Regions from separate parts of the Homo sapiens genome. Here regions 2, 3, 4, 5 and 6 are each linked to region 1. Evidence: promoter capture Hi-C in 16 types of primary human blood cells and fetal thymus (Javierre and others, 2016). All regions are on one chromosome and are shown on one strand. The core of a region is centred on a gene start or on the middle of the fragment in contact, and the rest is flanking DNA. Distances in the headings are between cores, read along the strand shown.

Evidence for each region. The method cuts DNA at HindIII sites, captures the fragments that hold promoters and counts their contacts. A CHiCAGO score of 5 or more calls a contact.
Region 2: a fragment that was not itself captured here is called in contact with the fragment with the promoter of ADAT2 in region 1 in 1 of 17 cell types (activated CD4 T cells); the score reaches 5.2 in activated CD4 T cells.
Region 3: a contact is called between a fragment that was not itself captured here and the fragment with the promoter of ADAT2 in region 1, in 3 of 17 cell types (naive CD4 T cells, endothelial precursors and activated CD4 T cells). The highest score is 6.1, in naive CD4 T cells.
Region 4: a contact is called between a fragment that was not itself captured here and the fragment with the promoter of ADAT2 in region 1, in 1 of 17 cell types (naive CD4 T cells). The highest score is 5.0, in naive CD4 T cells.
Region 5: a contact is called between a fragment that was not itself captured here and the fragment with the promoter of ADAT2 in region 1, in 3 of 17 cell types (total B cells, naive B cells and M0 macrophages). The highest score is 14.5, in total B cells.
Region 6: a fragment that was not itself captured here is called in contact with the fragment with the promoter of ADAT2 in region 1 in 1 of 17 cell types (megakaryocytes); the score reaches 5.8 in megakaryocytes.

What each region holds. Positions count from the first base shown.
Region 1 is chr6:143,448,087-143,452,856 of GRCh38, reverse strand. ADAT2 (adenosine deaminase tRNA specific 2) reads left to right here and starts at 2,162. Exons shown (of 6, transcript NM_182503.3): 1 at 2,162-2,294. The coding sequence starts at 2,199. It overlaps PEX3 (peroxisomal biogenesis factor 3), which reads right to left and starts at 2,052. Exons shown (of 12, transcript NM_003630.3): 1 at 1,742-2,052. The coding sequence starts at 1,814. It also overlaps the pseudogene RNA5SP221. RefSeq lists enhancers at 2,212-2,371, 2,174-3,156 and silencers at 2,912-2,991, 3,052-3,131. The HindIII fragment of the contact is 8,229 bases long and covers 1-4,770 here.
Region 2 is chr6:142,458,634-142,463,403 of GRCh38, reverse strand. No RefSeq gene overlaps it. Among named protein-coding and RNA genes, the nearest start is that of ADGRG6, 160 kb to the right of the region's middle. The HindIII fragment of the contact is 646 bases long and covers 2,022-2,667 here.
Region 3 is chr6:142,478,663-142,483,432 of GRCh38, reverse strand. No RefSeq gene overlaps it. Among named protein-coding and RNA genes, the nearest start is that of ADGRG6, 180 kb to the right of the region's middle. The HindIII fragment of the contact is 1,297 bases long and covers 2,086-3,382 here.
Region 4 is chr6:142,566,910-142,571,679 of GRCh38, reverse strand. The region is part of intron 1 of LOC153910 (a long non-coding RNA gene); the gene reads left to right. Among named protein-coding and RNA genes, the nearest start is that of ADGRG6, 270 kb to the right of the region's middle. The HindIII fragment of the contact is 9,498 bases long and covers 1-4,770 here.
Region 5 is chr6:142,671,120-142,675,889 of GRCh38, reverse strand. No RefSeq gene overlaps it. Among named protein-coding and RNA genes, the nearest start is that of HIVEP2, 270 kb to the left of the region's middle. RefSeq lists enhancers at 3,729-3,968, 2,913-4,112. The HindIII fragment of the contact is 234 bases long and covers 2,572-2,805 here.
Region 6 is chr6:142,888,009-142,892,778 of GRCh38, reverse strand. All of the region lies in intron 1 of HIVEP2 (HIVEP zinc finger 2), which reads left to right. Among named protein-coding and RNA genes, the nearest start is that of HIVEP2, 55 kb to the left of the region's middle. The HindIII fragment of the contact is 7,933 bases long and covers 1-4,770 here.

The DNA.
Region 1 (4,770 bases), core at 913-3,412:
TCCATTTATATTACCTTCAGCATTACAGGCACTTGATAGGTATTTCTTAAGTTAGACTAATTAAAATCTAACACACTGTAGAACTTTCTCCCTGAAGCAGAAAGAACATGAGACTCAAACAAATGCCAACCACGGTCATCTACTCTTCCTTTCTTTTCAGACTGACTCCTTTTTTGATATAAAACACTAGGATTATTTTCTCTTTCTGGCCGTCTGAACTTTTCTATTTTTTGCATTCCTCTTATTCTGTAACTATAAAGCTCTTGTTAGTTTTTTAAAAAAATTATAAGTTTAAGTATACTCTTTTGCTTCCCCTGTGATTATTTCTAATCTACTACAAAGTTGTTCCATAAGCTGAAGGAGTATTCCTTCTGAGATCGCTAAAGAGATAATTTTCCTTCCTTCAGTAAACGCAAAAATACTTTATTTGTATTTCTTCAATCACACATATATTTTTAGCTTTTATAAATAAAATGGACTCTGTAGTCTTAGGATAATTTAAATATACATTAGATACTAGCGACTGAAGATATCAGAAAATACCTTTTATATATAAAGGATTTCTCGAAGGTGTTCAAAATTTACATATGCTTATTATTGATGTGTGATAGACCTCAGAGACATGCAAAACACCATCCTTGGCTCAGCAACAAGAACTCTGTTTCAAACTTTCAAGCATCACCAAAATCTGAACTATTGATGCTAAAGGTATTAATTGCAAATTGTTTGGGGAGAACAGAATACAATCTAATACGTACTGTTAATTTCAAATTGTTTGGGGAGAACAGAATACAATCTAATACTAAGAGAAAAGCCAACCAAATTCTTTGGGAAACTCTGTTCTTGATTTTAAGTACTTTTGTAAACATAGCATGTAATAAGTGATGAGACTATTTCTCAAAAACTCAAGTTCTAACAAATTTCCTCTTTTATAGTTCCTAGATGTCCTTTTCATATAATTCACAAAACTTTTATTCCCTCCTTCAAATCCCTGAATATTATCACATGAGCATTGTATGAGGGAAAAGCGTCTCAAGATTTTTATCTTATCTGTTTCTAAATCTCCTCTGGGCCTGTGCAACTCAGTTATGTCAGCTAGATTACAATGATCCCAACCTTGAAGATCCTGAGGAAGATTGCACAACATCCCTCAAGCATTTTTCTTACTGCCATAGTTTGTATTCTAAAATGGCAGAAACAGAGCTAAAATATTGATTTGTTTTTCTTTATCTAATCCATATCTTTCAGTCCTTTAGGACAACTGCGCTGTTTTCAAAAATTCAAATCGACTTTAACCACCACCCGAAGTGCAGCCTATAGGTAACTTCCCTAGATTATTATTAAACTCCTGAGAAGGGTGAGAGCCAAAGTATCAAGAGTGCCAAGGAGAAATGCAGAATCTCACAGGAAAGCAGAATTTTTTTTAAAAAGTTCCTGTAAGAGAATGGTGCCTTGAAACAGAAACTTAAACTGTGATGAGTTCTCCAAAGGTCCGTGAGAAAAAAGGATAGGTGAGAAACAGAGTTAAGAGTCGGTGACAGGGCAAAGGGCACAGAGGCATTTCTCAACTGCAGAGATGGGAGAACCCTGGAGGTTGGCCACCTCCCTTTTCATCCCATGGTTGATCGAACTCCCTCTACATATCCCAGACTAGGATCGCCCGGCCTGTCCTTATTTTAGAAGAAGTCACCTCTCCCACCCCCTTCTCCCAATGCCCCCTTTCAAGCACGTTGTCACCCACCTCCAAGGACCGTGCCCAGGAAGATGCATTTCTTTTTGTGGCGTTTCAGAAAATTCCATACAGACCTCAGCATCTTTAGGCCCTAGGGGTGTGGGCTGACTAGGGGTGAGGGACTGCTTCACCAGGAAACTGTTTCTTCGTCACCTGGCCCAGATGACCCAGCAAGAGCGCCGTCGTCCCGTTCTGTGCTCTCCCGAAATCACAAACGTGACTTTCCGCAGAGACTGTCACCGGAGCGGCAAGGGGGCGTGGACTACAGCAAAGCAGCTACGCTTTCTGCCGCTGCCGCCGCGCAGCCGCCGCCGCTCACTGGTCCGACAAGCCCAGGTCCGTTCAGAAATAGCTCCCGAGTGCCTTTTCATTAGACTACCCCCGGAAACGGGGTCCCGGGCCCGCCGCGTTCCGCTGCCCGCGCTCCTCCTCTGCCGCGGGCTCTGTAGCTGAGTGGTGGCTGGGTATGGAGGCGAAGGCGGCACCCAAGCCAGCTGCAAGCGGCGCGTGCTCGGTGTCGGCAGAGGAGACCGAAAAGTGGATGGAGGAGGCGATGCACATGGTGAGGAGCCCGGGAGGTAGATGCTGCGGGGTGGGACCTTTCTCCAGCCCTCAACCCGACCCCGGCATTTGAGCAAACGTTCTTTCTCGTCACCATAATTTTTATGGCAGTCAGATGTTCTGGGTGAACAACTGGCTTTACTGCCTCGAAACTTTCTGTAGCCCATTCTCACAGTGGCTCTGGGCGAAGGAAGGGGAGGAAATACACAAATTATTTGTTTCATTGCGGTGGAGTATGCTGCAGACTTAACATTCTGTCGCCGGCTGGCACGTGCTGCCTCCCTTTCCTTTCTGTGGTCACACACTCTCCAATCTACAAAGTCACATTATTTGAGGTTTTGGCCCTTGGAACATGTCCAGCAGAAGGAAGGAAACTGAGAACGTTTCTGGTAGAGAGCAGTATGGAAACAAGTCCCTGTACAATCGGCGTCTCGCATTCATTCATTATTTCCTCTGCCCTTTTACTTCCTTCCCTCACTCCCTTCAGGACTGCGAAATAAAGGGGGCTTTCAACAGAATGCTGTGTGCTAGCGAGCTTCTTAACTGGGAAAAAAAGTTTGTTTGTAAATATATGTATTTACATTTTAATAACTACATACAGCCACGTGCCACACAATGACCTGTCGGTAAAGGTCGTTATCCTGGAGCATTAAATCTACTCACCTTAGCCCTATTGTCCCATCCAAGTACTAACCAGGCCTGACCCTGCTTAGCTTCCGAGATCGGGGGACATTCAGGGTGGTATGGAGGTAGACAACCCTAGTTTCTATGTAGACTTCTGGGCTAAACACTTTCGCTACCTTTTAGGTTGACCCTGGGCTAGCACATGTAAATACATTTACATACGTTTACAAACAAACTTTTATCCCAGTTAAGAAGCTCGCTAGCACTTTTCAGCTCCATTATAATCTTATAGGACCACATATACAGCGGTGGTGCTATAGGATTATAATGAAGCTGAAAAGTTCCTGTTGCCCAGTGACATGTAGCCCTCCTAACAAGTACTTTTTTTCCTTTAAGACCTTGAAGAAACTTGTATATGCTAAAACCCAAGAAGCAGCTGCCTCCTTAATCCTGTGTAGGAGGACGTAAACTATGGAATCACATCCCTAGGTGTTTATAATACAATTAAGAGACAAAAAATGTCAAAGCCAGAGAGGTCTAGAAATTCTTTGAAAACATCTACATGTTTAAAAAGATACAAAGTAGCATGGCCAGATGCAGTGGCTCATGCCTGTAATCCCAAAACTTTGGAAGGCAGAAGCAAGAGGATCTCTTGATCTCAAAAGTTGAAGAACAGCCTGGGCAACTTAGCCAGACCCCGTCACTACTAAATAAAAATTTAAAAATTAGTAGGGCATGGTGGCATGTGCCTGTAGTCCCAACTACTCAGGAGGCTGAGGAAGGTGGATTGCTTGAGCCTTGGGAGATTGAGGTCGCAGTGAGCCGTGTCTGTGCCACTGTACTCCAACCTGGGAGACAGAGCCAGACCCTGTCTCAAAAAAGAAAAAGATACAAAGTAAAGGAAATACAAAGAAGGAAAATATTTGCGACATATATAAAAGGACAGGTTTAATAACCGTAGCATATAATTTATATAAAATCTAAGTACTTTCCGACGTAAAAGGAAAGATGTATACCCTAATACTGAAAAAGGTCAAAGGCTATGAATATATTTCTTTTTAAAATTTCTTTTTATTTTTAGAAGATTTTTTTTTGGTTTAGACAGGGTCTCTCTGTGTTGCCCGAGCTGGTCTTGAACTCCTGGGCCCGGGCAGTTGTCCCACCTCAGCCTCCCAAAGTGCTGGGATTACAGGTGTGAGTTACCACACCTCACCTGAACATGATATTTCTAAAAGAAGTGACGAGTGAGTAGCCAGCAAATAAATGAATACACAATTTCACTATTAATGAAATTCAAATTAAAATGATACACAATTTTTTACCTGTTAAATTGGCAAAAGTGAAAGCAATTTTAATGCTTGGTGATAATAAGGGTGTGCATGTTTGAGGTGTTTGTTGGTTGGGAGGAGCTGAATTTAGAAAACCCTTTTTTTTTGTATGTAACATGTATATTACAGTTTTTATTTAATATGCTGATAAAGTTAACTCTAGTTAAGCCAAAGTTGAAAGTTTTAAGTTTAATTTACTTTTTTTAAATTATTATACTTTAAGTTCTAGGGTACATGTGCACAATGTGCAGGTTTGTTACATATGTATACATGTGCCATGTTGGTGTGCTGCACCCATTAACTCGTCATTTACATTAGGTATATCTCCTAATGCTATCCCTCCCCTCTCCCCCCAACCCCATGACAGGCCCCGGTGTGTGATGTTCCCCACCCTGTGTCCAAGTGTTCTCATTGTTCAATTCCCATCTATGAGTGAGAACATGCGGTGTTTGGTTTTCTGTCCTTGTGATAGTTTGCTCAGAATGATGGTTAACAGCTTCATCCATGTCCCTACAAATGAAAAGG
Region 2 (4,770 bases), core at 1,095-3,594, 990 kb after region 1:
GGAGGCCAAGGCAGGCAGATCACAAGGTCAGGAGATCGAGACCATCCTGGTTAACATGGTGAAACCCCGTCTCTACTAAAAATACAAAAAATTAGCTGGGTGTGGTGGTGGGTGCCTGTAGTCCCACCTACTCAGGACGCTGAGGCAGGAGAATGGCGTAACCTGTGAGGTGGAGCTTGCAGTGAGCTGAGATCGCACCACTGCACTCCAGCCTGGGCAACAGAGCAAGACTCCATTTCAAAAAAAAAAAAGAAAAGAAAAGCCCATTTTCTGGGAAGAAATTCAAGCTGGCTGCAGAAATTTGCATAGGTAACAAGGAGTCAAATGTTAATAGCCAAGACAATGGGGAAAATGTCTCCATGGCATGTCACACACCTTCACACCAGCCCCTCCCATCACAGGCCTAGAGCCTTAGGAGGAAAAAATGGTTTTGTGGCCCAGGCCTGGGGGTACCCCTGCTCTATGCCACTCAGGGACATGGTGCCCTGCTTCCCAGCTGCTTCAGCTCCAGCTGTGGCTAAAATGGGCTAATGTACAGCTCAGGCCATTGCTTCAGAGGGTTCAAGCCCCAAGCCCTGGTGGCTTAGATGTTGTGTTGGGCTTGTGGGTGCACAGAAGTCAAGAATTGAGGTTTGGGAATCTCCACCTATATTTCAGAGGATGTATGGAAACACCTGGATGTCCAGGCAGGAGTTTGCTGCAGGGGCTGAGCCCTCATGGAGAGCCTCTGCTAGGGCAGTGCAGAATGGAAATGTGGGGTCAGAGCCCCCACACAGTGTCCCTTTTGGGGCACTGTCTGGTGGAGCTGTGAGAAGAGGGCCACTGTCCTCCAGATCCTGGTATGGTAGATCCACTGACAGCTTACACCGCTTGCCCAGAAAAGCTGTAGACACTCAATGCCAGCCCATGAAAGCAGCCAGGAGGAGGGCTATACCCTGCAAAGCCACAGGGGGCAGAGCTTTCCAAAGCTGTGGGAGCCGAACTCTTGCATCAGTGTGCCCTGGATGTGAGATATGGAGTCAAAGGAGATAATTTTGGAACTTTAAGGTTTAATGACTCTCCTATTGGATTTTGGCCTCACATAGGGCCTGTGGCCCTTTGTTTTGGCCAATTTCTCCCATTGGGTGTGTTTACCCAATTCCTCTACCCCCATAGTATCAACAAATAACTAACTTGCTTTTGATCTTACAGGCTCATAGGTGGAAGGGACTTGCTTTGTCTCAGATGAGACCTTGGACTTGGCCTTCTGGGTAAATGCTTGAATGAATTGAGACTTTGGAGGACTATTGGAAAGGCATAATTGTGTTTTGAAATATGAGGACATGAGATTTGGGAGAGGCCAGAAGTGGAATGATATGGTTTGGCTGTGTCTGTACCCGAATCTCATCTTGAACTGTAGTTCCCATAATCCCCATGTATTGTGGGAGGAACCCAGTGGCAGTTAATTGAATCATAGGGGTAGTTTCCCCTATGTTATTCTTGTGATAGAGAGTAAGTTATCATGAAACCTAATGGTTTTATAAGGGGCTTCCACCTTCACTTGGCTCTCATTCTTCTCTCTCCTACTGCCATGTGAAGAAGGACATGTTTTCTTCCCCTTCTGCCATGATTTCTCAGGTCTGTCTTTATTAGCAGCACAAGAATGGACTAATACACCCATCCTGACCATTCCCCAACCTAGAAATGACCTGTCTCTTTACAGCTCCAACTGTTGCTTTCATGCAGTGGATTTGTATCATAGAATCACTTCACTCATAATTAATGTGTTACCTAGTGCCACATTGACATTGCATTATTTCCCTCTATCCCTACCAGAAAAAACAATCTACTCATATATATTGAGATTACAGAGGCTTTTTACTAAAATGGAATTGTGTTAACCTTGAAAATACAAGGACTCAAAAGAACTTAAAAAATATTTCTGGGTTCCCTGCTGTCATCCTCTAAGAAATACTGTATGCTTCTGAAATGTGCCTGAATGAGTGATATGGTTGAGACAGAGCTCCTGCTTTATAGAAGCTTACAGTTTTCACAGAGTAGACTAGGAAAGCTCAAAGATGACTATGGTACAGGGGGAATAAAAACAGGCTAAGGATCTATTATAAATGGAGAAATGACATTTATTTGGTGACAGGACAGACTTCATGGAAAAGGAGGCATTTCAAATGGGCACCACTGGAAAAAAAAGATACCAAGAGAGAGAACATTCCAAGACAGAGAAAATGGCAGGACATATGTGGGAAGACAGCTCAGTTGGATCATGGTATCGATGCATTATGGAGGCCCTTGAATTCTAGGAAAGGAATCTGACTTAATTCAATAGGCAATGATGGGGCTTTGGGGTGATACAGCCAGAGCTTAGATTTAGGAAAACTCATCAAGTTGCTCTGTGTATGATGATTTGAGGCACATACAATATGGTATTCTCAATAAAAGTTGGTTGAATGAATTGTTGAAGATATGACTTCACAAATTCAGAAGTACAAAAAGAAAAGAAAAAAATGCAAAATAGTTTTCCATTCAGGTTGATAAAACAGTAACATTAAGTTTCAAAAATTCTTAGTACTTGTTATACTATGTGGTATTTATGCTTGGTACAGGACTTAGTGGGGATGTGGGTGATTTTACCAACTAATAGAAATATATGTGAAGGATAAACAGAAAGCTTTTCCACTATTATTTTGATTATTTTAGTAATCTAGTTGATCAATATTTTGAAAAGAGATCAGGATGGGGTACAGTAATGAATCTTATCAAAGTACGAAATTGCAGTTGATAGCAGTAAAATTGAAATGTTCTTAAAGACTAGTAGTGGGTGAAAGGAAATCCCCATAGAGATGGAGAACTTCAGCTAAGCTAGAAACAATATCCTTAAAGGAAAAAACTCCACAAACTTTGGAGACATTGCACAGTTAGGATTTTTCCTACTAACACTTTGCAACACCTAAAGAACACTGCTAAGATTTTAGGTTTACTTTAGTATTTGAGGACATGGGCTTTAAGGGCACAAGATTGTTGCTTGCATCACAGATAGTTCTTTTTGTCAAAAGCAACAAAGCCTATTATTATACAATTATTATAAAATATTATAAAACTATAAAACTACCCATTTCTGTTTTTAGTTCATCCAGATAAGACAGAAGGTACATCTAATAATGTTCTGAGTGTTCCAATGAATGCAGAGAAGAATGGCTGTACTGGAGGAGAAAAGCATTTGCCTGAAGTTGACAATATGAAGCTCAGCATATTCCAGGTAGGGCTGCAGATCCACCAGGATGAAATCCCCTCTACCAAGATGAAGGTCAAATTCCTATATAATAAGTTAGTAATCTCCTGTAGACATAAAAGTTGCCTGTTTTTTAGTAGTCACAATTTCCACACCCATGCTAAGAAAACTGGGCCCTTGAGTGGGGCCCAAGGTTCTATAACTGAACTTAATAGAAAGTGAGAATAACAACCAAGGCCACGATGCTTTATCATTTTTCAAATACTGCCACATATTTATCTCAGTTGTTCTTTACAGTCAAGTGAGGTAGCTATGGACATTACCAACTTTATTCCCATTCTACAGTTGAGAAAACTGAGGTTTGGAAAGATTAAGATACTTCCTAGTAAGTGACAGTTGTCAGTCCAGACATTTTTCTTAAAAGAAAATCCTTTGCTGTTTCCACATCATACTATCATCCATTGATGTAAGGAAATTGCACTAGGAGACAGAAAGAACCATCAATGTTATTAATGTATTTAAAATTAATGATATTTTGGAATAATTTTCCTAGAAGTTTGGAGAGTATCTTGTAACTAAAATAATGGAAAGGTACTAGAAAGAAAATAGCCCAGAGAAGCTGGGAGCTGAGTTGATGACAAAGCCATGTGATCTCCTTCTGTTTCCATTATGCTAGCTACAAGATACTCTCCAAACTTCTAGCCTTTTTAGAGACAGTTTCTAAAGATATGAGTCAGCACTACTCCTTTTAAACCACAGAAGGTACTAAAGTATTTGCTTTCCAAAGTATTCTCTCTTTATGTAGGGCCAAGAATGGGAAGGGATAGATGAAGTGGTTAATGTCACTCCATCCCGCAAAAAGTGTCTTGCACATAGTGCCTATTAATGTTATATAATTGTGATAGTGAATGTTATATGTCAACTTGGCTGAGCCATAGTGGCCAGATATTCAGTCAAACATTATTCTGGATGTCTGTGTGAAGGAGCTTTTTGGATGAGATTAACATTTACATCTGTGGCCTCTGAGTAAAGCAGATTACCCTCTATAATGTGGGTGGGCTTCTTCCAATCGCCAATGGCCTAAATAGAAAAGACTGCCCTCCCCAAGCAATAAGCAATTCTGCCAGCAGACTGCCTTTGGAATTGAAATGCAACTCTCCCCGGGTCTCCAGCCTGCTGGCCTACTCCATACATTTTGGATTTGCCAAGCCTATGCAATCACATGAGACAATTCCCTAAAATAAATCTTTCTATGTGTACACACACACAGCCTGCTGGTTTTGTTTCTCTGGAAAACCCTGACTAATACAATAATGTTAGGTAATATAAGTAGTAAGTGTGCATGTGTGTGTGTGTGTATGTATATATATATATATATATATATATATAGCGTTATATAAATGTAATACTTACAAGTAATGTTTTATATGTGTACTATGTCTTCACTTAACATCATAGATATGTAATGTTATATATATGTAATACTTACAAGTAATGATATATATATGTGTGTGTGTGTGTGTGTATATATATATGTATGTAGT
Region 3 (4,770 bases), core at 1,485-3,984, 970 kb after region 1:
ATTACATGCTGATTTATTTGTCTTTCTGTGAGCTATCATGGGAAGAATAATCTTTATATCTCTACAACGTATTTGATCCTGAAGCCATGGCCCCAAATGGCCAAAGAACGAATGAGTAAAATGCAGTTTGAAGGGAAGTAGAAACAGAAAGCAGCATGACCCCACGATGTAATGCCCACCTCACACCCTCTCTATAAACATATTCAGAACAGGTGTCTTACACAATGGCAAGCCTTGGAAAGCTCAGCACTTAATGAGTCCAGACATTTCGCAACCATGCATCATGAAGATCCCTTTACACCAGAGTACTGTACTTTGAGTTATTCCCCCCTACTAAGTAATTAAACTGTGTGACATTCCCTCTCCCAAATTTACTCCCACCCTCACACACGGTTTTGTTAATAGGAACATGAGGCACTGTAATGTGCTTAGCAGCACCAGGTGTGGGGTGTAAATCTGTCTACAGGAGTTGGAGACAAGGCATGGAGGAAGAAACCTCTTTATGTGCCTTTGAGTAACCCTTTCAGGAAAAGAGAAGTGAAATAGCTGATCGATAAAGGGCTGTATTTTAGCTTGTCATTGATGCCATTTAATAGAGAAAATGTTCCCAGAAAAGGAAATTGTAAACTTTGTGGTATTTGGTACTCTTCCAGATTTTAACACTGGTCAGGTATCCACTAATTAAATAGCATAATCATTACAGAAGCTTGCACTAATTTGTCTGTCACTTGTCCAGCATTGTGCCAGTATTAATTCTGCATACATGCTTCACTGTATTGTGCTCCAGGTGGCAGTGGCATCATTCTGTCTTGGTGTGTTGGTCTTACCACTTCATGCCTTTGGAGGTGAGGTTCTGTCTTTGTGGTGGTATGAACAGAACTAGGGTTTAGTCACCAAGCAAGATCCAATGGTCCCCAAGTTAGCAAGCCTGGAGTATTGAACAGCTGTATTCCCTTGGAGACAGCCACGTCATGATTGACCTTGAAGTAACAGTTTGTAAGCATCAGCTGATATTATGCAACCTCAAGAACTTCCCCATTCAGGTGCATTCAATGGCTCACAGACAGCCATGAACTCTATTAGGGCTCATCTCTCTCTCTCTCTCTTCTTTTTCCCCCTTTGCTTCTTTCTTTTCTGAAACTGTAGAAAAGAAGAAAGCCAGGAATTCAATAATAAGAATATTAAGCTCTCATTATAAAAACTTGGAAAGATGAAAAAGTTTAAAGAAGAAAATGAATAACACCGGAAAATATGCAGCTTATAGATAAACACGGTTAACATGTTCCTACGACTTGCAGCTCTTTTTTACTATATGTATATGCGGGTGGGGTACAAAACTATTATGCCTTTCTATGAATTTACTGTGCTTCATCCTGCGAAGGTAAATATAATTTGCCATGAAATAATATTGATGTGTGAGCACTGAATCGTAATATTTTCCATTGGCCACTCTCAAACCTATGTTCTACATATTATAGCATGATATTTTACAACAATTTTAGTCTTGTAGACAAGTGCAAAAATAGTATAAAGTCTTTTTGTATACTTTTAACCCAAATTCAGAACTATCAACATCTTACCACATTTGTTTTATCATTTAATCTGTCTTACTTTCTTCTGTATAGATAATAGCTTGGTAGATAAAAATAGAGATTAACAAGGAAAACTTGTTTTCCTGGATAGGCACAACACCTCTGACACCAAACGTGTGAATTTTCTACACTCGGCACTTCTTCACTTCTCTGTGGATACCAGCTGAGTAGTGACTCACAGGTCATTTCAACTCTGACACTATCCACCTGGAGTTAGTTTAACATCCTGCAAGTTAAAGAGCTCAGTCCCACAAGACCGCTCCCACTTTAGATGCCAATCACAAGTCCCGGGTTTCCACCTGTACTTCTGACTGGCTGGTTATAAACTAGGGGTTTCCATGACCCCCTTCTTAGGTTCAATAATTTGCTACAATGACTTACAGAACCCAGGGAAACACTTCATTTACTTTGATTGGTTTATTATAAAGGATACAAATGAACAGCCAGATGAAGAGGTATGGAGGGCAAGGTATGGGGGAAGGAGCATGAAGCTTTCATGCCCTCTCTGGGCGGGCCACCCTCCTAGCACCTCTGTATATTCACTGTCTCAGAAGTTCTCCAAACCACTTCATTTAGGACTTTTCTGCAGACTCCATCATGCAGGCATGATTAATTAAGTCACTGGCCATTGGTGATTGAACTCAATCTCCAGCCTCCCTCTCCTCCCCAGAGGTTGTGGGTGGGAATGGGGCTGAAAGTCTCAATTCTCTAATCACATGGTTGGTTCCTCTGGCAACAGCCTTCATTGTGGAGATATCTAGGGGCTTTTGGCCACCAGTCATCTCATCAACATACAAAAAGATACTCTTGGCCAGGCATGGTGGCTCACACCTGTAATCCCAGCACTTTGGGAGGCTGAGGCAGGAGGATTACCTGACGTCAAGAGTTCCAGACCAGCCTGGCCAACATGGCGAAACCTTGTCTCTACTAAAAATACAAAAAAGTAGCTGGATGTAGTGGTGGGCACCTGTAATACCAGCTACTTGGGAGGCTGAAGCACCAGAATCGCTTGACCCTGGGAGGCAGAGGTTGCAGTGAGCCGACATTGCGCCATTGCACTCCAGCATGGGCAACAGAGCGAGACTCTGTCTAGAAAAAAAAAAAGATACTCTTATCACTCCAGAGGTTCCAAAGTCTTAGAAGCTCTTCTGTCAGGAACCAAGGAGGAACTAAGAAAGACTATTACAACAAATGATGCTCCTAGCAGTCCTATTATTCAGGAAGATACAAGAGTGTTAGAAGTTTTGTGCCAGGAACCTGGGGTGAAGACCAAATATACATTTCTTATTATATCACAAAGATAGGCAATTTTTAAAAAACTATTTGAGAATAAGTTGTAAATTGCAGACATTATGAACAATTATGCATAAATACTTCAGTCTACTTCAGTTAATTTCCTAAACACAAGGGCATTATTTTATATAACCATAACATGGCATCAAAATCAAATTAACACTGGCACAGAAATATTATCTAATCCATAGGCCTTATTCAAACATGGCCAACTGTCCCAATAATACCATTTATAACAAAAATAAATTATAAGCATGTATGTGTATATGAGTATGTTGGTATGTACATATGTATGTATTCATGTTTCTGGCCTGGAATCCAATCCAGGATTACACTTTGTATTTAATTGTCATGCTTCCTTAGTTTCCTTTAATGTAGAAACTTCCTCAGACTTACTTTTTTGGCCATGACACGTTTGAAGAGTACAGACCATTTATTTTGTAAAATGTCCTTCGACTTAGGTTAGTCTAATATTTCCTCATAATTAGACTCAAGCTTTGCATTTCTGGCAGGAATATCACAAAATATTCCATCTTTCTCAGTGCATCATGTTAGGAGGCACATAATGGAATTCTATCCCATTACCGGTGATATTAACTATAATTGCTTGATTAAGGTGTTGTCTTTCAGATTTCTTCACTGTAAAGATACTATTTTAACTGTTGCAACTAATAAACTTTGTAAATATGTATATGTATATATATATACACACACACACACAAACAAAATATATATATCACCACAAAAAAATTTATAGGCACCAGTGATATATATATATATATCTCTCTCCACAAAAAAACTTATAGGCACCAGTGAGATACATATATATATATATATATATATATAAAGTTTTTCTGTGTGTGTGTGTGTATATATATATATATGTATATACACATACACAAAAATATATATATACACGCCAAAAAAACTTAATTTCAAAGTTTATTAGTAAATCCCAACAAAACTGAATGTGTGTGTGTATATATATGTATATATAAAATTTATATATATAGTTTTGGTTTTGATATTTAACATTATATTATGATCGTTGTCTCAATAAATATTCTTCATTGAAGTATTTTAATATTTGCGTAATATTTCTTTATATGGTTGGATCTCAATGGATTAAAAATACTTTTCTACTGTCGGTTATCTAGTTTGTCTCCATTATTTCATAATAGTGTGGTGTGTTGTTCAGCATGTAAATTAGCTTGGTCATTACGAGAAACAGTATGGAGGTTCCTAAAAACATTAAAAATCAAGCTACCATGTGATATGGCAAACCCACCACTGGGTACATCCAAAGGAAATGAAATCAATATATGGAAGAGATATGTGTGCTACCATATTCACTGGAGCATTATTCACAATAAATTAAGCTAAGTGCCCGTCAACAAATGAATGGATAAAGAAAATGTGGTATATATATACAATGAAATATAATTCAACCTCAAAAAAATAAGGACATTCTGTCACTTCAGACAATATGGATAAACCTGGAGATCCTAACCTGGAGCTCTTTAGATAAGTGAAATAAGCCAGGTCCAGAGACACAAATACTACATGATCTCACTTATACGCAGAATCTAAAAAACTTGAACTCATAGAAGTAGAGTTACCAGGGGCTAAGGATGAGAGTGAGGAGATATTGTTCATAAGATACAACATTTCAGTTAGACAAGAGAAATAAAGAGAGCTATTGTATAACATGGTGGCTATCATTAATAACAATGTATTGTACTCTCAAAAATTGCTAAAAGAATAGATATCAATTATTCTCACCACAAAAAAGGTAACTATGTGAGATAATGTTTATATTAATTAGCTTGATTTAGCCATTTCACAATGTATACATGTTCCAAAACAACATGCTATAAATAATATA
Region 4 (4,770 bases), core at 1,098-3,597, 880 kb after region 1:
TCTTTGTCCTTTTGATTTATATATTAGGAGTCTGATAGCCCAGGTAGTTTTATGTTTACTCTGGGTATTTGCCCTTTGGAAACAAATTTTTTCCTGTTTACTTTCATTATTGTCTTAACTAATTTACCTGCTTTTTCTTCTGCTATTTTGTTTTATGCTACTCCTTTTTGATCTTTCTTAATATTTATCTCGTTTTATTGAATCTTTAGTTTCTGTTTTATTCTCATCAGTCACATATCTTTTTTCTGGAACATCTATTATTTTATGATTTTCTTTCCTTGGCTACCCATGTTGATCATCAATCATCTTCACTCTTGGCAATTTGAACTCTTTTATGTTTTACTTGACGCTCTGGGAGATATTTAAGTTACTATTCCACAGGACCAATTCATTTTATGCATTGTCAATTCTATTCATTAATGCCTCCAATTCACATATTCATTTCAATTCTGTATGATTACAGAACTTTTTACATTTTAAATTTAAGAATGCTTCTTTCTTTATCTCTGTCTTCATCTTAATGAATTTTCTCCCTGTAATTTTATGCTCTTTTTTCATAGTTGCCATGTAGTCCTGCTTCCTTTAATGACATTAAGAAAATGTCATCATAAATTTTTTCTTTCTGATTTAAAGTTATTTTTCAAATACAAGATTTTTCTCAGAATCTTTGGAAATAGGTTTACATTCCCTTCTAGTTCAGTGTTGTTTCTCTAAAGGTTTGTTTGTTTATATATTCTTGCATGTGATCTATCCAAATTTGATCTATCCAAATCTAGGATTTTGCCACAGACAAGAAGCAGATGTCTTTAGTCCTACTTACAGCCCACCTTAGAGTTGACAGTTTACCCATTTTATCTAACCTGCAGAGCAGAGCTTCCCCTCTAAAAATATTTGAAAACACAATAGAAAGCCATCTCTTGGGAAAGGTTCATCAATAGAACTGTTTGTGGTCAAGAGAATGAATTAGGTAATCACTCAGGAACTCATCCATCCTCCAAGTTTTTCAAACTTTCCTCCTTGCTATAACTTACCAATTGACTTGTCCCCTCTCATAATACCAACCTGGTGAGCTCCAAGCACACAGAACACCATGTGACTTTGCCTGGGAGCTCTGTGGAAAGTGCTGTTTGTTTAAACTGATTGACATCATTTCCTGGAGAATTCAAGGAGTCAAAGTTAAAAAAAATTCTCTAACACTTTCAAAATGAGCAAAATTTTTCACATCATTCTTTGCTTTGGGATTTGCACTGCTAAGACAGCTGCAATAGCAACAGAAATTTAAACCCCAACAAACCACAAAGCTAAATAACAGCTTTCTACTTTTCAAAACTCAGGGGAAAACTATGCACAAGTCACAACTTGTCATGTGCTTCAGTAACTGGAATGTAGTGAGGTGAACTTCAGGTAAGCATCCCACTGAAACAAGGCCAGACTGTGGGCTTCCATGAACATACAGTTTCAAGGAATATCAGTGGGACTGACAACATTTATTGTAATGCAGTTTGCTTCCATTGATCTTCATACTGGCTAAAATCAGAAACCTGGAAAAATAGGTTTTGTATTTCAAGAGGTCTTACAATTTCCTTGAAAAGAGTTTTTTTTTCTAGCTTTATTTGTCATCTATCTCTTCTATGAGACTCTAAACTTGCAAACTGCCAATCCTGCCTGAGAGTAGGTGTTTCTGGGGAGGGTGAACTGAGAAAGGCATGGATGTGGTTTGGGAAAAGAGGGATGTGAATTTCACAACAGCAAAATGACTGTCTAAACCCACTTCAGAGAGAAGGAAATGGCTTAGTGACAAACATCTCAGGTGTGGGAAGTGAACTGAAATGGCTTTGATTCCGTAGTGTGAAAAGAACAAAAGAGTTCTTTGCTTATCATTCAGCTGCCTCAGACTCCTCCACCCTTTCCCTCTTCCTGCCTCCCTCTCATGTTCTGTAAGCTCAGTCCTTTGGAAAGTAAAATCTTGCTGCTCCAGCATTTAATGTTATGCCATTGCTCAGCAATGATCAGGATCTGAAAAATATCTCATCAGCAACTTAAACATTAATCATAGGTTTTTGAACTTTAAATAGTTGCTTGAACTCTAGCAAATCTTGAGTTAGATAAATAAAAATGCACACAAGAGGTTTCAGTTGTCATTCAAATGCTCACAGTTTATTTGGTCTCTGAGGCTCTGCAGCCTGTAAGAAAGAAGGAGTTCTTTGCATTTTGGTACTTCTGAGTAAAAGCAGTTGTGAAAAATATGTAAGGTGATAGCTCATTATGCATCTTCTGTGAATTTCAGGGAAATGTAAGGTTGGAGGTTTGATCAGTCTTTAGCTCTTTCCCTCTGCCACTCTAATTCATACCCATTGATGAGTCAGAAGCAGACTCTCAGAAAAGAGAACTAAAGCCATAGCTCAGAAAAAGTAAGTTTTATTTAGTGTTACATGTTACTTTTATTAAAGAAACCATGGAAGATTTTCTGAACCAAAGGAAGACTATAATGTGGTTGGCTAGAAATGAAGATAAAAGGTTTCTCCAGAAGGCAGGAGGCAAACTCACAGCATTTCCTCCCTGTTGCTAAGTTATGTAAGGAGCAAGATCATAATCAGAATGTTTCTTTGGTGAGCATGGAGCTTAATTTAAAAAGGAATTCAGATGATCTCATAAAGAGTCCTTCAACTGAAAGAGGAATAGCCTTGCCTGTGGATAACGCATTTATAGTTCCACTGACCAAGAGTCCTCTCACTGGGCTGTACTGAATAAATACCCTTCAACAAAGTCCTGTGTGCTATGCAGGTTATCTGCTGGTGATAAATTTTATTTTCTTTATGAACTCAAAATTTCATAGAATCATGAGCAAAGACATATTCAACAATTTGATTTGATTTATACAAAGAAAGTAAAAACCTCCCAAAAAACAAAGCACAAAAACCCATCTTTTCATAAACTTCTTCAAGAGCACCTCTACTGTATTTAGTGATAGATACATGAATCTAAATCAGGTATCTAAGGATAAAATAATGATGTGGGAAGAGATTGAAATGATGCTGGGAACAGAGAAATTTACAGGGAGGAATAATTTGGTTGGAATCTACAAGAATGGAAAGAGGTGCTCTCTAGACTCCCCTATACACATAGTGCAATGCTGACCTGCATATCCACTGATGTGATATTTCTCATGATACCAGTGCCTTATGATCAGGAAGGGATATTTCCGGCATGGTCGTTTCAATAGTAGAGATGGATTTGAGTTAATGTATCATCCATACCCTCTTGCTTGGTCCCCCTTGTGGCTTTTGAATAGGATTTCTGAACAGCTAGGACACAGTCTGTGGTCATGGAGCAGTATTAGGCTAACAAGTGTTCAAAGTCTTGTTTTTGGCCTCCAAGGTGAGGAGATGTATCCGGCTGAGAAAAAGGCCATATAAATAAAATAGGTTTATTTTATTTATGGGGCAGAGGCTCTCAAACTTCAATGTGCATCACTGCCCCGAAGAGGGTGTTTAAAATGCACATGTCTAGATGACTGCTAGAGATTTAGAAAGTTAGATATTGGGTGCAGAACTTTGCATTTTTAACCAGTAATCCAAGTGATACTGAAGCAGGTGGTCCTCCTTAAATTCAGTCTAGAAGTTTAGCTGACTTTTGCCTCTCCTCCTTGGCTCAGGTCCCTTTGAATTAGGCCCATTTACAGTTTTTAATCTGTTTTATTTTGATGAAGCCAGTTTTAGATCACAATTTACTTCTAGAATGCTCTTACTGTTATTCAAAATAGTATCATTTGGCAAAGTGCAAATGATTTTGAGAAGAAGGAACATAAAGAGCTTTTGAAAAGAAAGCCAGATAATAAGATGGCCTATTAAGAAGCAAGAATAGATTCAACTTTGAAGCTACAGAGCATTTCAGCAAATGGTCTCAGTGAGGAAATGATTAATGGAGATTTGGGGAGCCAAGGGAAACGAAGAGAGCCTTGTACTCCTGTCAATAGTTGGATCAGGAATGTTTGTTCTGCGAGAAGACCTTGTGACACAGGGAGAGCCAGGTGACTGGGAGTTTAGTGTTCACCTCACAGACTTTTATTCACTTATGTAGAAACCATTCCAGCTGAATTCTAGTTTCCAAGGCTGTGGAGAACATCCAGGAAAAAAAGTTGCCTGGATTTATAGGAAGTCAAAAACCTTGGAGTCAGCGTGGGTATTTGGATCTTAGGTTAAAACAGCTGAGAGATCAATTTGTGTTCCCCATTATTAGGAAACCCAGGGTGGTTAATCGTTTAATACGGGTCCTAGCGGGAGATGGGCTTAGCAAGCACACGGAGTCTGGTGGATAAATTGGAAAGAGCAACTTACAGGTACAGAGGTATAACCCGTCTCTCTCCACAATGATCATTTTCATAAAAATAGGACAAAACAAACAAACAAACAAAACACACATCCATGGAAAGTTGACCTATTATGCAAAATGTCCAAGAGGCATAATGACTAGCAGCAACGGCAACAGAAAATGTTCTGGTATCTGTTCTCACTATAGTTGAATTCAGACAGTCACGATAGGGAGTGAGGACTAATACTTAATAATGAAATTAAGAAAAACATGACTGAGGCAGGCAGTCTAAGCCAGGGGTTGGTCACATCTGGAAAGAGGAAAATTTCCCTTTTTGGGACTAGGGCCAAGGCTGCCAGTGTCTCTAGGCTGCCCTCTCGTGTTCATTTCTAGCACTGCATGATCTTTTCCAGACCTCTCTCGCAGAGTTCTTCTAGGCCTTGGAAAACAAGACTTCTC
Region 5 (4,770 bases), core at 1,439-3,938, 780 kb after region 1:
TCATCCAATGTGGGGCTCTGTTGCCCTCAGTTATTCAGAAGTCTGAGAGAAATGCAAGAAATCAAGTTAGATATCACATTTGTGCCCAACGGCTCCACCATGCCCCAGCGCCTCCTGAGAGAGCTGCCCTTGATCTGCTGCTGGGTGGCCCTGGGAGAGGCAGAGCATGTGCAGGTTTGTGCAGGGAGTTTTACGGGTGAGGCCTGAAGTGGTGAGCACCACTTGTGCCCACGTTCCGCACAGCCCAGAACTCAGTCTCATGGCCACTGCTAACTGCCAGGCATGGGTGGCAAATGTGGCTTATTCCTGAGCTCAGAAGGAGAAATGAGTTTGTAGACACCTGGCCAGCTCCATCACAGATGCCAGACTCCTTCCCTTTCCTTCTCCTTCCCCTTCTACACTTTTTCTGCTTCCTAGAGTTTACTCAGTTTTAGGGCTCCGGTGAGAAGCCGCCATTTTCTACCCCTTTCCGAAGGTCCCTTAGTTGTCTGGGAGCCAGGACTTTGCACTGGAATAGCTAACTCTGTGTTGGACAGGTAGTCTGGAAGAATATTTAGAAATAGTACTTTTCAAATGTTTAATCATTAAGCATTAAAGTGTGGGAAGGAATAATGTATGGCTGACACGTGTATTATTTTCCACAGAAAAATGGCAAAGTTTCTGACATGGTCTTTGCCATGTCAATATTTCATGGAAGTGAAGTATTTCCAAAATGAATTTAGCCAAATATTTTCAGCAGACATAAATATATGGAGGAAGCTCTATGTAGTCTAATTTATTATTTAGCAAGAGACATAAAGTGTATGATGAACAATAAACAGTAATATTTTAAGTTCAAAGTTCCTACTTTAAAAATGATTTTGCTACTTCATGAAGAATGTATTTCAACTTTCTGTCTTTACCTACCCTTGGTGATCAAAGGCACCTGGCTGATTATTATTCAAAAAGAGAAAATTAGAAATTTAAATTTTAGAAAGAAAGATATGTCCACCTCCTCTATCACTAATGCCTACCTCAGTCATTCATTTTTCTGTTATTACGGGGGAGGAAGAGGGAAGCTAAGTGGTGTTAACTTCCACATGGGTTAAATGCATCACTTTGATGTTTTTCATTAACAGTATTTTATTCAGTAGATTATATAAGACGTAAGTAAGTTTTTACAATTGGGCATCTTGTCTGTGTTTTTGCCCTCATGAGAATTTTAGTGAAGAAGTCAATGCATTTGTAAAAGACTGTTAAAGGAGACAGGAGGAATTAAGGAGGGATAACACATAAATTAGGGAAACATTGGCTTTAAGCACAGAATACAATTTCATGCAAATATAGTTCAGATAGTTCTTCCTGGGGCACATTTTTGATTTTTATCTTAGTTTTTTTTTTTTTTTTAAATGTTTCCCTTATGGATGTACCAATTAGGAAGGAGAAATGTAATAATTTTTCATTTCTACTTTTCAAGGAGTAATTCGTTTTGGTTTATTCACTTGTGAGATCAAAGCCACTTTGTTGTTGAATTTAATAAATCTTAATAGACAAGTCCCATTTATTTACCTGTAAGCCCAAGCTGATGTGGTGTAGTATTCCTTCCCTGGCTGGCTGCTTTTTTGCTATAGAGAGATTCTTTCCTCGTCATTTTCTCCCTAAAATATAAGCTTCCTTAGGGCAAATTCTTGGCTTACTCCCATCGTATTCCCAGCACCTAAGAAAATATTGCACAGATACTGAACTCTCAATAAATATTTGTTGAAAATTTGAATAGATAAATGGAATCAAGGGATCTTTAGTGCCTCTTGGGCATAAATAGAAATTATTGTGCCAGAATGTCCTGGGTGTAGACCTGAAGATGAATTAAATAGTTTTGTAACCTACATTGACTGTATTAAAAATTTACTCATTTGCTTTTTTTTAAAATTGACATGTTATAATTATACATATTATGGGATACAATTTGATGTTTGATACATATATATTGTATAATGATCAAATCGGGTATAACCATCACCTCATGCACTTATCATTTCTTTGTGGTGAGGACATTTAAACGCCTCTCTTCTAGCTATTTGGTAATATACAATACCTTACTGTTAACTGTGGTCACGCCACTGTGCAATGGAACATCAGAACTTATTTCTTCTATCTAGTTTTAACTATGTACTTGTTGACCAAATTTTCTCCATCCTCCCCTCCTGCCTCCCCTACTCAATCTCTGGTAACCACTGTTTTACTTTCTGCTTCCAACTCATCCACTCCTTTATTTATTCATGAATGTATTCTGTGGATCAGGCACTGGGTTAGGCATTGAGAACAACAGGATTTATAAGCCCCTGCTAAGAATTTAATTTACTGAAGATTAAAAGGCTTATTCAAACTTAGGCAATACGATGACACACAAGATGGACTGGAACTGCCAAAGGAGAGTGTAGACCCATTTATGGGGCACTGCAGGACATGACTTTGTCTTTTTAATGGGTCTTGAAAAGCCAGAGACCCTCACAAGTTTTTGCAATTAGACTGGCAACTACTTCAGGGCAGAAATAGTGTTTTTCCTTGTATGTTTTGTAGAAGGAAGAAGCTTTCTTCTAACTGGAAATCATTAAGTATATGTTGGTTGATTGAGTTATACTGATAACAACACCCTAACCCGTTGAAGAGATTTAAAATGGTAACAGCGATTCCAATTAGTCTTCCATGGAAAGCAGGGGTGTAAATGGCTTTTCTCAGGCAAAACTGGCTTTATTGGGTGCCCTTAAGATATCTAGGGAAAGACATATATTGCAGAGCTTCCGATAGTCTGAAAGTAAGAAAGCTTGAATATCTCCATGGAACTTTTCCTCTGGAGTGCCTATAAATTCATTTCCCTGGACTTGGATATAAATGAACTGTGCCTCATTTGCATTGTGTAACCCACTAAAAAGGAAATCACCCTCCACATAAAAGAAGATGTGGAGAAAGCATTTTCCAAGTGGACCGAATTTTAAATGTTTGTCTTATGTTATCTGAAGAAAGTAATACCTTCCTTCTTTTCTTTAATGTACCACCATTTGACAGGGGGTGGTTAGTGGTAGCTAAATTTTATTTGTGCCCCCTCCCCAATAATAGATTTCTAATTAAATAAATGTTAGATCCAAAATAGACGAAAGCATGAGATGGAATAAAAGACCCTTGCAATAACATAATGAGAAAAGTATTTTTAAACTGAGTTAACACTGTTTGAAAAATGAGGCAAACTTGATTCTGTCAAATCTGGGGCTCTCATGAGGTGAAGTTTTTGTACACACAGGCACAGATGTGTGCTGACAGATATTCAGAAGCGAGAGAAGATCATTCTGTGGAGAAACAGACATGAATTGGTCATATAAATCTTTGGAACAATCATAGATGAGTCAAGGCAAGTTTTTACAATGAATGCATGTTAACAAAACATTTATGATTTAGCCAAGGTGTCTCAATATTTAAAAATTGTACCGATTAGCAAGAAAAAGAGGTAAGTGATGATAAATCAGTTTTTCTCAAACCCAAAGACAAGCAAGGAAGGGGGGAAATAGCCAGCCTCTGTAATTTATTTACAGTAGAATGTGGAGTAATCAACTTGTCATTTTTTTCACTTTAAGATCTTTGAAAACCATAAGTTCTTAGAGACCTGGAATTGATCCTCTTTTTAGACATCCTTGTCTCTGATATAGGTTATAATAGACCATAAAGAGCAAAGGTGCCAAGTAGAAAAGGATAATCCATAAGAGAAAGTAAAGCTAACCTGCCATGCTTGTTTAAATGTGGGTGGCTCTGCCCTGGGAAGTCTCAAGGGACCCAGGCTCATCCTGTCTTCTTGCTCTGTTGCCTTCACACGTGGCTTCCATCTTGTGGTATGCTCACACTTCTGCCAGCAGAATGGAGGGCATACTTCTTCTTCTATAATAGCATGATCTGAAAATTGTACACTTCAACTTATCTCAGCTCCCATTGGCCAGAACCTAGTTTCAGGGCCACACTTAGCTGCAAGGAAGCCTGGGAAAGGTAGTCTTTGGCTGAGTGACTGGGGATCAGCTAAAACTCAGGGGAAAGAGGCAGAGAAAAGATACCAGGAACAATTAACAGACTCTGCCACTCAGCTTGAGAGAGGAATATGGGCAGAGTCTTGAAACTGAGATGGTGCAGGTTGAGCACCACGGCTGGGGTATGTGAAATGGAGCAGTGCCAAATAGAGTAAGAGGTCAAGCTGTGGTCAATAGATGAATTGATGAAGATTAATAAGGTACAAGTATTGACAGCTTACTCAGGACCAGATACTATCCTAGGTGGTTTGTGTGAACTCACTCATTTAATCCATCAAGCAACCCTTTCAAATAAGTATGATTATTACTTCCATTTAAGAGATTAAAAAAAAGAAAAAACGCTGAGGAACAGAACAGTTTAAAAACTCACTCAAGATTGTCATATTAGTCTGTTCTCATGCTACTAATAAAGACATACCCCAAACTGGGTAATTTATCAAGGAAAGAGGTTTAATGGGCTCACAGTCCCATGTGACTGGAGAGGTCTCACAATCGTGGCAGAGGAGACTAAGGAAGAGCAAAGGCACTTTTTACGTGGTGGCGGGCAAGAGAGCTTGCGCAGTGGAACTCCCATTTATAAAACCATAAGATCTCATGAAACTTATTCACCACCACTAGAACAGCATGGGAGAAACTGCCCCCGTGATTCAATTATCTCCACCTAGCCCCACCCTTGACACATGGGGATTATTACAATTCGAGGTGAGATTTGGGTGGGGAC
Region 6 (4,770 bases), core at 1,523-4,022, 560 kb after region 1:
AGAGCCTTGGGGGAATGCCTGCTGTCTTCACATTTTACACCAACAGAATTGTGTGTTATTCAGTATTGCCTTGTATTAAGCCATTGATGTTATATCACAGGATATATGATTGATCCCTTTGAAAGGTCATTAAAATATTTGCTCACATGTCTTCTCGTTTATCTATTATAAGCATTTATAGACTTTGTTTAATGAAGATAGACCAATCACTTCTGTCTTATCATTAATTTGCATCCTGTGTCTGGACATGTGTACTTAGAACACAGTCCCTTTAAGAACCACTAGCCATCAGCAAAAATAACCTAGAGCAGCTCAGGTTACTGCCAGGCTCCAAAGACTCTTGGGGGGTCAGGTTGCTTATTTCTCTGGCACCTCCGCCGGGATGTAGGAAGAGCTTTATCCATGCCAGCAGAGGGTATGTGTGGATTTGTGCACATGAGTCCCTACTTTTAGCCAGGTGCCCTTAGACATGACTTCTTTTGGACTTGCCCCTTCTTTATGGTGGAAATGTTCTTAGTTGGGCCACTTAAATTGTTTAAAATCTGTTGTGACCCTGTTCCTGGACCTGGGTGCAAGAGCCTGTCTTTCCTATCACCCTTGGGTTTTGTACTATTTCTTTAAAAAATAAAAATGTAAAAGATATCAAAACCCATCAACACAGACAAGCATCTCCTATCCCCAAAGTGAAAGTGCAGTAGGCAGCGCAGTGAGGCCAGGCCAGGTGAGGGCACACCCCTTTCCCTGGGACCCCTGTGCCTGCATGTGTCAGCTAGCCTTTCTTCTAGGGAATGTTTTTACTGGCTGGACATAGCTAAAAGATCAAAGAATAAATGGGACATAAACAGGGCCTAAGGCTCTATAAAGATAAACAAACAAACAGAATGAACTCCTTAATGAAGTCCAGTTTTTCGATTGTGGAGAAACAGATATTGTTAAGAGGGATTACAGTGTTTGAGAGAGGACAAAGAACCAGCAAGGACTTAGACCATCGGGGGCCGTGTCTCAGCGATGTTGCCGAATTAGCTGAATTGCAGAATAAGAGTTTTAAAAGCTAGGTGGTATCTGTGAGTGACTCAAAGTCTCTCATTTTACACAGGAGGGCAAGGCCCAGGGAGGTTGGGTGACTTATTTGAAGTTACTCAACTGGGTGATAGTAGATCTCGATCCATAGCCCAGGTGCACAGATCATTCATCTCCATAACCCTGCAAAGACACAGTCAAGAGTTGAGATCTTTCCAAAACCCAGTTTCCTTATCTATAAATGGTGATTGTCCTACCTGGCATACCCTATCTGTAAGGATCTGCTAAGTGAGTGTGGGTGAGAACACTTTTTAAAATTATTAAATTATATATTAATATTAATATTAAATTATATATAAACATACATATGTATGATGAGATAGATGTACAGTGTAATACCTAGTATTTTGCTAAAATTCTTGATGTGGGAATACATGAACACAATCTGGGTTCTCCTTTGGAAATGAGAAACAGTAGGAAATTCCTTGAGTACAAGAACAGGAGTTCTAGACTTCGAGTTATTAATCTGATGGTTTTACTTACTGATGTTGTTATTAGTTTACTTTTCTGCAAAGTGGAAATACTAAAATCCTCAACCTATCTTGGAGTTGTCCCGAAGAGAACTTTAAGCATGTAAGTGAAAGTGCTTTGTGAACTGAAAAGCAAACAACAAAAGTGAACTATTTTTACCAAATACTTTTGAAAACTGCAGACCCTATCTTTACAGCACAGGTATAATTAAGGAGAACAGGCCATATATACAAAAGCATATTTCAGCATTCTATGACCTTGATGTCAGATAAAAACTACACCACCGGTAATGACTAATATTACAGTTTACAAATGGAAGTGTAATCATCCTTATAATTATTTTAAAATTGATCTTTCCCTCTAGACATTTATACAGATTGTCAAGACAGATACCTGGTGTTTTTCATATTTATGGGACATTATTTTCTGTAGTAATATACAAGATAGAGATTTAAGTGTTTTTTGTATTACTTTCTCAGTTACACTATTTGCACTAATATTTATATGTCTGATTTATCTCATTAGATTATTATATTAATAGGATATTTAGGAGTTGCAGTTAGTATTATCATTATTTGACAGATAGGAGGTCAGGTGATTTTTCCAAACCTCATAGAATGTTAATGGCAGAGCTGAGATTTGAAGCAAGCTCTTTTGGTCCAGATCCTGTGCACTTGCCACTCTGATCCATCTCTCTGTGTTGTGCTGGGGATTCCATTCTGTGGACTGTATTCTTCATTCATTTCTTTGGCAGTAATTCTTTCAAAATGTGTACAGGGAAATGAAGCAAGATCGTTTCTACCTTCAATGAATTTAGAGTGTTAGAAGGAATGCAGAGCAAGTGCACGAATATGTGAAGAAGTACACGCAATAAAAGCTGAATTGCGTTAACTTTGTAAAGATACAAAGTTTTGGAGGAGCTTATTTGAGGAAGATTCTCTATGGAACTCTGTTATCTGATCTTCTCACACTTTCATGGATAAATTTCTTAAATAGAATGGATTGTTTTACTGATGTAGAGCCCCTTCTACTAGTGTTAGAGCTAATTTGCAAAGGGAGTGAAAAATATAGGCATTTAGGTCTGATTTCTTTAACAGAGCAGGCAATGTTGAATTAACAAAAATGAAGACATAGATAGACCCTAATTAACACTGGCACTTGAATCCTTGTAAACAAGACTGATTTTGGGGAAAGGGGAAATGATAGACACTTAAAGGGTGCTCCATTGATGTCAGGGCTAATTTGGTCTGTGCTGTCCAGTGCTGTAGCCACCCAGACTCATGAGGTTATCTAAATTTAAATTAATTAAAATTGAAAAATCAGTTTCTCAGTTATACTAGCCACATTTCAAGTGTCAAGAGCCATTTATGGCCAGCGGCTACAGTGTTAGACAGTATAGATATATAGATACCTGTCTAGTGGACAGCACCAAAATAGGTCATTTTGATGTCTGATAAATGTATGTATAATTGCACAGCAGAAATCACTAAACATAATAATAGCTGCCATTTATTGAGCACCTTCTCAATAGGTGCCAGCTATTGTAGGAGGCACACAGTGTATGTTATTCCATTTGCCATAACACCATTTTGTATCTTGGGAACCTAAGGTTCAGAGAGGTTATGTAATTGCCTAAGATTTGATAAGACTATTGTTGAATTCAGTTTTCTTTGATTTCAGAGAGAATTGCTCTGCCATACCTTCTTTTTATCTAGTCTAGTTAGACCACATCAGGAGTTTTGTTTATTTGTTTCTTTGTTTGTTTATTTTGAGACAGGGACTTGCTCTGTTGCTCCGGCTGGGGTGCAGTGGCATCATCACAGCTCACTATAATCTCAAATTCCTTAAGTGATCTTACCGCCTCTGCTTCCCAAGTAGCTAGGGCTACAGGTGCATGCCACCACACCCAGCTAATATTTTGTAGAGACAGGGTCTTGCTTTGTTGCCCAGGCTGGTCTCCATCTCCTGGACTCAAGAGATCCTCCTGCCAGTCTCTCAAAATGCTGGAATTACAGATGTGAGCCACCATGCATGGCCACATCAGGAGTTTAAAATGTCAATGCAGTGTCCTGTCATTCAGTCCACTTTAGTTCAACAAAAGTGCCAGGTACTCTGCTGAGAGCTGGAGATGCAGTAATAAGTATAACATAGTCTCTGACCTTAAGGAGCTCAAAATCAAATAGAAAGTTCGAACACATAAATGAAAAATTATGATAGTGTAATCTCTGATACAAGACTTTGTATGATACAACTAGGAGCCATTGAAGGGTTTTGATGGAATGAGCAGTATAGTCAGAGTTATGTTTTCTACAACTCATTTTTGGTCATGTAGAGCATAGTTTGGGAGAAGAGGGAGAACTGAGGATAGTTATTTTATTTCCCTGAAAGAAGCACTGGGTTAAAGGGTAAAACTAAGGTCACGACAGTGGAATTAGAGAGAAGACAGACAAGGAAGAGAGGTAACTTGGTAAAATTGTCATGGCTTGGTGATTAGACATGGGAGCTGAGGTTTAAGGAGGAGTTAAGGATGACTCTCTTGAATATACCTTGGGTTCTTTGAATGTTTGACCTCATCAAAGGAGATCAGGCATGAGGGAAAGGTTGAATATGTATGTGTGTGCATGCACTCTTGCAGGTGCATTGCAGGGTGGGAAAACAATGAAGATAATGACTTCAATGAGCATAAGCCCATGAAATATTTTGGAAGCAATCTTATTTACTAAATGAAAAAATGTCACTATTAAACAATGAGGAGATGTAAGGATGTAATTTTTTTTAATTAAAAATAAAGCAGAATCTGTGGCTGGACACTGTGGCTGATATTGATAAACCCAGCATTTTCAGAGGCCAAGGTGGGAGGATTGCTTGAGTCCAGGAGTTTGAAATCAGCCCTGGCAATGTGGTGAGACCCCATCTTTACATGGCATGCACCTGTGGTCCCAGTGAGTTGTGGTCACACCATTGCACTGCAGCCTGGGCAACACAGTGAGCGTCTCAAAAAGAACAATACAACAAAACAAAACAAAACAGAATCCCATCATAATACTGAGACTAAAGGAGAAAACTAACTTTATAGTCTAAATGTGAGTTATCTGTCCTTGACTGGGCGTAGGATAGTGAACTAGGGATGTATTTTCCCATTTTTTGAATATAGTTAAAACATGTAAAATGATTTATTGTCATGGTATTTTACTAGTGACATAGGGGAATGAATTTAAA